Regions from separate parts of the Homo sapiens genome. Here regions 1 and 3 are each linked to region 2. Evidence: promoter capture Hi-C in 16 types of primary human blood cells and fetal thymus (Javierre and others, 2016). All regions are on one chromosome and are shown on one strand. The core of a region is centred on a gene start or on the middle of the fragment in contact, and the rest is flanking DNA. Distances in the headings are between cores, read along the strand shown.

Evidence for each region. The method cuts DNA at HindIII sites, captures the fragments that hold promoters and counts their contacts. A CHiCAGO score of 5 or more calls a contact.
Region 1: a fragment that was not itself captured here is called in contact with the fragment with the promoter of NAT9 in region 2 in 1 of 17 cell types (neutrophils); the score reaches 5.3 in neutrophils.
Region 3: a contact is called between a fragment that was not itself captured here and the fragment with the promoter of NAT9 in region 2, in 1 of 17 cell types (monocytes). The highest score is 6.5, in monocytes.

Annotation. Positions count from the first base shown.
Region 1 is chr17:74,439,485-74,442,612 of GRCh38, forward strand. GPRC5C (G protein-coupled receptor class C group 5 member C) reads left to right here. Exons shown (of 4, transcript NM_022036.4): 2 at 261-1,343. The coding sequence starts at 293. Among named protein-coding and RNA genes, the nearest start is that of GPRC5C, 9.0 kb to the left of the region's middle. The HindIII fragment of the contact is 6,158 bases long and covers 1-3,128 here.
Region 2 is chr17:74,775,025-74,778,258 of GRCh38, forward strand. NAT9 (N-acetyltransferase 9) reads right to left here and starts at 1,321. Exons shown (of 7, transcript NM_015654.5): 1 at 1,243-1,321; 2 at 598-683. The coding sequence starts at 674. It overlaps SLC38A12 (solute carrier family 38 member 12), which reads left to right and starts at 1,475. Exons shown (of 10, transcript NM_017728.4): 1 at 1,475-1,553; 2 at 2,240-2,351. The coding sequence starts at 2,307. RefSeq lists an enhancer at 1,003-1,122. The HindIII fragment of the contact is 5,812 bases long and covers 1-3,234 here.
Region 3 is chr17:74,477,828-74,481,083 of GRCh38, forward strand. The region is part of intron 4 of CD300A (CD300a molecule); the gene reads left to right. Among named protein-coding and RNA genes, the nearest start is that of CD300A, 13 kb to the left of the region's middle. RefSeq lists enhancers at 1,109-1,188, 1,199-1,248. The HindIII fragment of the contact is 1,051 bases long and covers 793-1,843 here.

The DNA of each region.
Region 1 (3,128 bases), core at 220-2,719, 340 kb before region 2:
GGAACTGAAAATTCAATGACAGGTTTTTCTTTTGCCATGGCTAGGAATAGGGCTGACAAATGGGCTTCATCTCATTTGCCTCTGTGGCCAGTTGAAATGCCTCTCAGGGGTTCTATGTTAAGAAGGATTCTGAGGTCCAGAGAGCCTCACGGTCAGCAGCTAGCACTATCTGCCTGGGTTTAGGTTGGGGGAAGCAGCACCATGTATATTGGAGTCTGATCTTGGAGGACTAATTTTGTCCCTTTTCCTTCTGTCTCTAGGGACCCAACCAGAGCCTGGCCTGGGAGCCAGGATGGCCATCCACAAAGCCTTGGTGATGTGCCTGGGACTGCCTCTCTTCCTGTTCCCAGGGGCCTGGGCCCAGGGCCATGTCCCACCCGGCTGCAGCCAAGGCCTCAACCCCCTGTACTACAACCTGTGTGACCGCTCTGGGGCGTGGGGCATCGTCCTGGAGGCCGTGGCTGGGGCGGGCATTGTCACCACGTTTGTGCTCACCATCATCCTGGTGGCCAGCCTCCCCTTTGTGCAGGACACCAAGAAACGGAGCCTGCTGGGGACCCAGGTATTCTTCCTTCTGGGGACCCTGGGCCTCTTCTGCCTCGTGTTTGCCTGTGTGGTGAAGCCCGACTTCTCCACCTGTGCCTCTCGGCGCTTCCTCTTTGGGGTTCTGTTCGCCATCTGCTTCTCTTGTCTGGCGGCTCACGTCTTTGCCCTCAACTTCCTGGCCCGGAAGAACCACGGGCCCCGGGGCTGGGTGATCTTCACTGTGGCTCTGCTGCTGACCCTGGTAGAGGTCATCATCAATACAGAGTGGCTGATCATCACCCTGGTTCGGGGCAGTGGCGAGGGCGGCCCTCAGGGCAACAGCAGCGCAGGCTGGGCCGTGGCCTCCCCCTGTGCCATCGCCAACATGGACTTTGTCATGGCACTCATCTACGTCATGCTGCTGCTGCTGGGTGCCTTCCTGGGGGCCTGGCCCGCCCTGTGTGGCCGCTACAAGCGCTGGCGTAAGCATGGGGTCTTTGTGCTCCTCACCACAGCCACCTCCGTTGCCATATGGGTGGTGTGGATCGTCATGTATACTTACGGCAACAAGCAGCACAACAGTCCCACCTGGGATGACCCCACGCTGGCCATCGCCCTCGCCGCCAATGCCTGGGCCTTCGTCCTCTTCTACGTCATCCCCGAGGTCTCCCAGGTGACCAAGTCCAGCCCAGAGCAAAGCTACCAGGGGGACATGTACCCCACCCGGGGCGTGGGCTATGAGACCATCCTGAAAGAGCAGAAGGGTCAGAGCATGTTCGTGGAGAACAAGGCCTTTTCCATGGATGAGCCGGTTGCAGGTGGGTCTCTGTGGATGCCCCCAGTGGCCCCTTTCTCCATCCCATGTCTTTTACTGCAGGACAGGGAGCCAGTCTCTTGAGCAAAATGGAAAGTTTTTGAGGTTTTCTGTAGTTTTCTGCCTAAGTGTCTCTAAATTCCATTTAATTTAAAGATTTTTTTTTTTCAGTTGGGCATGGTAGATCATGCCTGTAATCCTAGCACTTTGGGAGGCCAAGGCGGGTGGATCACTTGAGACGAGGAGTTCGAGACCAGCCTGATCCACATGGTGAAACCCCGTCTCTACTAGAAATCCAAAAAAATTAGCTGGGTGTGCTGGCTCATGCCTGTGATCTCAGCTACTCGGGAGGCTGAGGCGGGAGAATCACTTGAACCTGGGAGGCGGAGGTTGCAGTGAGCCAAAATCGAGCCACTACACTCCAGCCTGGGTGACAGAGCAAGACTCCATCTCAAAATAAATAAATAAATAAGATTTTTTTTCTATATTCATATAATTCATGCATACATTCTCACTGTAAAATTTCAAACATTACAGATAAAATGAAATTTTCCCCAGCTGCCTCCCCAGTCCTACCCGTCCCATCCTGTTCCATCCCCAGAAGTGACCACTATTGACTGATATAATATCTATGTGCCTTTGTTTCTCCATTTGTAAAATGGGGATAATGTCAGTACCTATTTCATAGGGTTCTTGTGAGGATTGAATTAATTAGTGCCGGCTGGGCGCCATGGCTCACACCTGTAATCCCAGCACTTTGGGAGGCTGAGGTGAGTGGAGCTTGAGCCTAGGAGTTTGAGACCGGCCTGGACAACATAGTGAGGCCCCGTCTCTACAAATAATTTCAAAAATTAGCCAGGTGTGGTAGTGCATGCCTATGGTCCCAGCTCCTCAGGAGGCTGAGGCAGGAGGATTGCCTGAGCCCAGGAGGTTGAGGCTTCAGTGAGCCGTGATTGCACCACCACATTCCAGCCTGGATGATCTCAAAAAAAAAAAAAATTACTTAGTGCCCGGCCCATGAAAAGCACTCTTGAAGAATTAGCTATTTGCTGTGTGTGCGTGTCTATTATTTTACATATTTTACTAATACTATCCTTCCAGAACTTGTTTTTCTATTATGTATGTATCCATAATCACCTTAGTTTTCTTTAAAAGGAAGTATTTTTCAGGTAATTTTTTTCTCTTTTTTTATTTTTTGAGACGGAGTCTCGCTCTGTCACCCAGGCTGGAGTACAGTGGTGTGATCTTGGCTCACTGCAACCTCCGCCTCCCGGGCTCAAGAGATTCTCCTGCCTCAGCCTCCCAAGTAGCTGGGATTACAGGCACGTGCCACCACACCTGGCTAATTTTTGTATTTTTAATAGAGACGGGATTTCACTATGTTGGCCAGGCTGGTCTCGAACTGCTAACCTCAAGTGATCCGCCTGCCTCGGCATCCCAAAGTGCTGGGATTACAGGTGTGAGCCACTGCACCTGGCCTTTTTCTCTTTTTAATAAAAGTATTTGGGGTGCCGTGTAGTGGTCTCAGCAGCGCCCTTGTTAGCTGTACAGCCCACTAGCATTTCCTCAGCACCTGCTCTGTGCCAGCCCCTGTGCTAATCCCCTTACCGATGTGGCCCATTGCACGCATCCCACCTGCTCTTCCTCAGCCTGCTGGCTGCAGCCCCTCATCTGACATGACCTGGAAATTTGGGGGTGCCATCTCAAAGTCCTGACCCTGCCCCCAGACTGTGCTGATCTGGAGGCCTGGGGGCTTCAGACTTTCTTAACTGCCCGGTTAACAAGCACC
Region 2 (3,234 bases), core at 71-2,570:
TTTTGTGTTTTTAGTAGAGATGGCGTTTTATCATGTTGGCCAGGCTGGTCTTGAACTACTGACCTCATGATCCACCCGCCTCAGCCTCCCAAAGTGCTGGGATTACAGGCGTGAGCCACCGCACCCGGCCGTTTTTTTGTTTTTGTTTGTTTTTGTTTTTTTGTTTTTTTTGTTTTTTTTTGAGACAGGTTCTTGCTCTGTCACCCAGGCTGGAGTACAGTGGTACAATCACAGCTCACAGCAGTCTTCATCTCCTGGGCTCAGGCAATCCTCCCACCTCAGCCTCCCTAGTAGCTGGGACTGCAGCTGTGCACCACCATGCCTGGCTAATTTTTGTATTTTTTTGTAGAGACAAGGTCTCGCTACGTTACCCAAGCTGGTCTCGAACTGCTGGGCTCAAGCAATCCTCCTGCCACAGCCTCCCAAAGTCCTGGAATTACAGGCGTGAGCCACGGCACCCAGCCTTTTTTCCCCCCTCATATATAATTATTTCTCACAACCAATGTTTCTTCTTAGGGGAAATAGCCCTGAGACTGGGGCTGTACCTTACACAGCTCTGGGTGCTGATACGCACCCCATGTCAAGCGGGAAAGATACCTGGGCACATGCTCCGAGGTGTAGGGTACAAGGACCACCTTCTTCCCCAGCAGCAAGGTGTTCTGATTCAACCTCATGGTAGCAGCCTGCATGCAGATGGGGAGAGCAAAGACTTCAGGACCCTGAATTTCCTCCAACTTTGGGTAGGCGCTCCAGCTTTCCTGCTGGGGCTAAGTTGACTTCCGTCATTAGTTCCGTCTAGACACTTCAAAGAATACAGACTCCAAAATTCTTGCAAGAAAGAGAACCAGGCTGGTTAAGGATAATTAAACAATCCTTGACTCCCACTCCAAGAGGCCAAGCCTGGGCTCCGTTTCTGCCGGTTCCTTCCGTCCACTCCCCAGAACTTCGATTCCTCAAACCCAAGCACCAAGTACCAAGTACCAAAGTATCCCCAGAGCTCCCATTACTTGCCCCAGTCCAGGGATTCCAACCCAGAATCAACTTTCAGCCCTGCCTTAAACCTACTTCCAACCTCTTACCCCGGCGACCACCCCACGGGGCTCTAGCCACTCCCTCCCCGCCCCCGACCACTTCAGGGCAAGGCGGGCTTAGTCTTAGGCCCTCCCCTTTGAGTGGCGTTCTAGACCACTCTCTTCGACCCTCCAACCACGCGGACCCGGGTACTGCCAAGCTCACACCCACCTACCACCGACGAAATCGTCCCCCGCAGAAAGGGTGATCTACCTCCTCCAACCAGCCACGTTCCCAGGCCCGGCCGGCTACCGCCCCTTCCGCATGCGCGTGAGAACGCGCCCCGCCCACTTCCGCCATGCTGACGGCAGCCGCCAGGCCCCAATCCCGGTCCCGCCCCCGCGAGGCGCCCAATCAGCGCGCGCGAAAAAGGTGGGCTGTGGGGCCGGCGCATGCGCGCTGCGGAAGCTGGTGCTGGACAGCTGGCGCCGGCAGCAGCGGACCGGCGGGAGACGGCGGCTTGGGAGCTGGCTGTGCTGCAGGTGTTGGGTCGGGTCGGGTCGGGACGGGCGGGAGAGGACGAGACGGGTCGGGATAGGTTGGGGCGGGGCGGGGCGGCACTAGACTCGGGACTCCTCCAGGAGGGAGAGAGAGGGAGAGGCTGGGAGTGGGGTTCTTGAGAAAAGAGGGAGCTTTGAGGGTGGGGAACCCTAAGAGAGTAGGTGGGGCCAGGGAGTGGAGGCCCCATTAAAAAAAGGAGGCCTTAGTGCCAAGAGTGGAGTTGGAAGGGCAATGTAGGAAAGCCCCCAGCTCCCTGCCCTAGGCAGAGGCGGCAGACAGTTCCTTGGGCTCCCATGTGTGGTAGTGAGCTCCTGGTTCCTGGAACTAAACGAGGATAACCACCCCAGAGCGTGGAAAGGGGGCTCTTGTGGTGGGTGAGACTTAGTGGTTTTAGAGGCCCCTTAAATCACTTGCACCCCGAGCAGCATTGAAAACATCCGTGCTGGGCACAGAGCAGTGCCCTGCACAGCAAGGGAAATGTTAGAAGAAACCGTCCAGATTTCTGTCATCCAGGGTGACCCCTCCCTCGGGGGTGAGTCTTGTGACAGATACTGAGGCCCTAAGTGTCTGTGATAAAAGAACCAGAGGTGGCAGGGGAAGTCTGCAAGCCTCCTCCCACCCCTGTCTCAGTCCATCAGATAGGTGAAGCCTGCTCTTTTGTTTTAAGGAGCTGCGGCAGCCGCCGTCCTTGCACCTAAGGAACCTCTGCTGCCAGCCCTTCCTCACTTTTGGAAATGGCGGGTGAAATTACAGAGACCGGGGAACTCTACTCTTCCTACGTGAGTGTGACTTATAGAACCTTTTGCTCACTTAAGTGTTCCTGGCTTCTAGAAAAGCACATTGCTTGCTGGAGATGGGACTAGTGAGTGCTGCTGCTTGAGCAGACCATAGTGGAAGCAGGATGGGGGAGTTCCATGGGGCAGCGACTACAGTGCTGCTGTGGTGGCTCAGAATGTAAGTCAGATTTATTCTCTTTTTAAGGTGTTTGTCAGAGTGGTCAAGCCAAACAAAATCGCCATGCTGTTTATAATGTTAATCCCGGGCTGGGCACGGTGGCTCACGCCTGTAATCCCAGCACTTTGGGAGGCTGAAGCGGGCAGATCACCTGAGGTCAGGAGTTCAAGACCAGCCTGGCCAACATGGTAAAACCCTGTCTCTACTAAAAATACAAAATTAGCCGGGCATGGTGGCACTGTAATCCCAGCTACTCGGGAGGCTGAGGCAGGAGAATCGCTTGAACCCGGGAGGCGGACGTTGCAGTGAGCTGAGATCGAGCCGTTGCACTCCAGCCTGGGCAAAAAGAGCGAAACTCTGTCTCAAAAATAAAGAAATAATGTTCATCTCCAGGCTACCACACTTGCCTGCAGTGCTGCCCTTCAGATGAACAGTGATTGACAGCTGTTGACTCTGGGTTTTGCTCATCTCAGCAGTTGGAAACCGCTTTGGTCTTTACTGAATTTTAAATTGCACAACTTTTATAGTCTTGGATGGCGTAAGAAGCAGCGAAAGCATACAGAGACTTCTAATTACAGTTTGGTGGACTCTGCAATTAGAACAATTAGAATGATTGATTCTCACTGTCTTAGGTCTGTGTTACCTCTGGCTGCCCCCAACACACACGCAGTTTATCTTCTCTATGTAACGTATGATTGGTCATAGTTG
Region 3 (3,256 bases), core at 68-2,567, 300 kb before region 2:
TGCAGTGGTGTGCATCTGTAGTTCCAGCTACTCAGGAGGCTGAGATGGGAGGATTGCTTGATCCCAGGAATTCAAGACCAGCCTGCGCAACACAACAAGGCTCCCGTGTCTATAAGATAAAATAAACCCTTGCATGGTCTCCCCCACCATAAAAAGTCCAGGTATCTACAGGAGTCACTGCCCTCCACGATCTGGCTCTACCCACCTCCCTCTCCCCATCCGCGCACCCTGGAAACCAACTTCTTGTATCTCCTTTAATGACAGCCTCAACCTCAGCCTCTCCTCTCCTTCTGGGTTTGCTCTGGGCTGGAGGGCCTCCCCTGCCCCCTCTCCCCAGCTCACTCCCAGTGGACTCCAACAGTGGTCCTCAGACTTTCTTTTCTCTGGGACCTTTTCTTTGACTCCAAAGAGTGGCTTGGGGCCCCTCCTGGCTATACCTCTGCTGTCACAGCCTTTTGGGAACCAGACTGTCATTGCTGGTGTCCTCATCTGCCTTCCCACAGGCATGTGCTTCAAGGAGGTACAGAACCAATATTTGTCAAATTAATGTGTTATTCAGTATCTCCAGCTGCAACGGGCACCCCAGGGGCCTCCAGGCAATCTCTAGTCCAGCTGCCCTCCTCTGAGCTCAGATTAAAAGAGAGAACAGGAACTCTTGGCACTCAGTAAGTAGATGCTCAATAAATAGCTGATAGGCAAATTGAATAAGCACAGGAACAGAGGAACAAGTGGAGGTGTGGCCACCAGTCCTCTAGATTGCAGATCCCTGGCCGAGGTCAAGTGTAAGCCTGAAGCTTCCTCCCTGTTCGGAGAGTTGAAGATTCCACAGGCAGAAGATTCTCAGGGGAATCTTTGTCCAAAGCCTTCCAAGACTGCAGTGAGACTGGGGTGGGAAGAGATGGGGTTATCCTGTCCCATAGCTGCAGGATAAGCTGCTGCATGCTTGGTGGGGGGCACTGCTCACACATATCCCCAGTGCCTCCTGTGGCGCCCAGGCTTTTGGCGGAGAAATCAGCCTCAGTAGATCTGTGCAGGGTGTATGGGAAGAAAACCACTTCCTCTTTCCCATCTGCTTTGTGTGTGTCATTTTCTGGTAATCCCATCCTAAACTTCAGCACCCACGTGGATGCCACTGGGTTGTCTCAGTTCTGAGCCCCTTTCGGTTTCCTTTGTGCCCTTTCACCCAGAAAGTCTCTGGCTCCTCAAAGAGCCTCCTCCCCCCTTGAAAAGGATGTATGTGATTATTGTAGGAAGTTTGAAAAATGAGCAAAAGCACAAAGAAGGAAATAAATCCCCCATCATCGATGATAACTAAAAACCCCACCACCTAGAGAAAACCAGCCACTGGCCCCTGAGGTATATCCTTCCAGTCTTTTTTTCTATGCCTATGTAAATGCATCTATGATTTCTTTTTTTTTCTCTTTTTTGAGACAGAGTCTCACTCTGTCACCCAGGCTGGCGTGCAGTGGCATGATCTTGGCTCACTCCAGCCTCGACCCCCCACTGCCCGGGGCTCCAGTGATCCTCCTGCCTTAGCCTCCCAAATAGCTGGGACTACAGGTGCTCACCACCACGTCTGGCTAATGGTTAAATTTTTTTTTTTAAGAGATGGGGTTTCACTATGTTGCCCAGCCTGGTCTTGAACTCCTGAGCTCAAGCCCAGAGTGCTGGGATTACAGATGTGAGCCACCACACCCAGTCATGCATCTGCGATGTCTTAACAAATTGGCCTCATACCACTCATTCTCTTTTAAACCTACATTTTTGCACTTAACATATGGTACCATGTTCCCAGCTAGTAAATGTTCTAAAAATCACAGACGCAGAGTTTACTGGTGTCTTAAGCTTCCTGTAACCCATCCTCAGTAACAAGATAAAGGCTTTCTATTCAAACATTTTTGACTCTCTGTCCCCTGCTTTGCAAGTCCGTGCCCCATCCCCTGACTGTGTGGCTGGGGCTGACTTCCCCTTGCCCTGCCTGGAGCCTGACACCTGCCTCATCACACCTACTCCCCACTCTTTCCCCCAGCCCACATTTGTCGTTCATTCATTCGTACAACAAAGCTGTCCTGAGCACCTACTGTGTGCCAGGCCTGTGCTGGGCCCTGGGGACAACATTGTGACTGGGGTAGACTGGGTCTTACCTTCAGTGAGCTTCCCCTACCGCTGGCTCCCCCAAACCTTCTCACTACCACCCTCCTTCCCGGGCGTTGAACTCCTGTCTCTTCCCCACCAGCTCTTTTTCTCCTTCCCATCAGAACACTTGTCCCAGGTGGGGACAGGGAGGGCAGTGTGGTGCCTGCGCACAGCACTTGGAAGCAGGGCACTTCGCACCCCAGAGTACCCGGCTGCGCACTCCATTAGGTCAGCTGTGGCTCAGCAAGCCCGTCACTATACGTGGTCTTGTGTCTCCCAACCGTGGGCTCCTCCCCTTTAATTCTGGGGGAGGAGCCCACAGATCCCCACAGCATCCAGTGCAGTGGGCTCTGGGGTTGCCTGGCTGTGGACCTAACCAAGGGCATCAGCAGCGTGTGTGTCACCCGCTGCCCACGTGGTCCGGGCTCCTGGGGTGAAAGGGTTAGGGTGTACAGGGCTGTGCTCATAGGCAGCACCCTTATAGAGCAGGTGCCAGCAGCCAAGGGCTGTGTGAGCCTGAGCTGGCGTCCCTGGGGCTGACAGGCCTCCTTCCCTACGGCCTGGGGCAGCAGGCAGGTGGGCTGTCTGGGAGGGCAGACCTCAGGCACGGGGATGGGAGCAGAGGCCCCAGCAACTTCCCACAGTCTGATGCAGCCCTAAGCCCCAGATGCACAGGGCTTTTCAGTGGCATCCTTCCTCCCCTGGAAACATTTGTGTGAGATCCCGTGTTGAGAGCTTGTTTTGGTCCCTCTCCTCCAGCTGGGAGCTTTCTTTCCTTTCTTTCTTTCTTTTTTTCGTTTTTGAGACAGAGTCTTGCTCTGTTGCCCAGGCTGGAGTGCAGTGGCATGATCTCAGCTCACTGCAACCTCCGTCTCCCAGGTTCAAGCGATTCTCCTGTCTCAGCCTCCCAAGTAGCTGGGACTACAGGGCGTGTGCCACCATGCCCAGCTAATATTTGTATTTTTAGTAGAGACAGGGTTTCACCCTATTGGCCCGGCTGGTCTCGAACTCCTGACCTCAAGTGATCTGCCCTCCTCGGCTTCCCAAAGCACTGGGATTACAGGCGTGAGCCACCGCACCCGGCCCAGCTGGAATCTTTCTATTTCTCCATTTATTCACT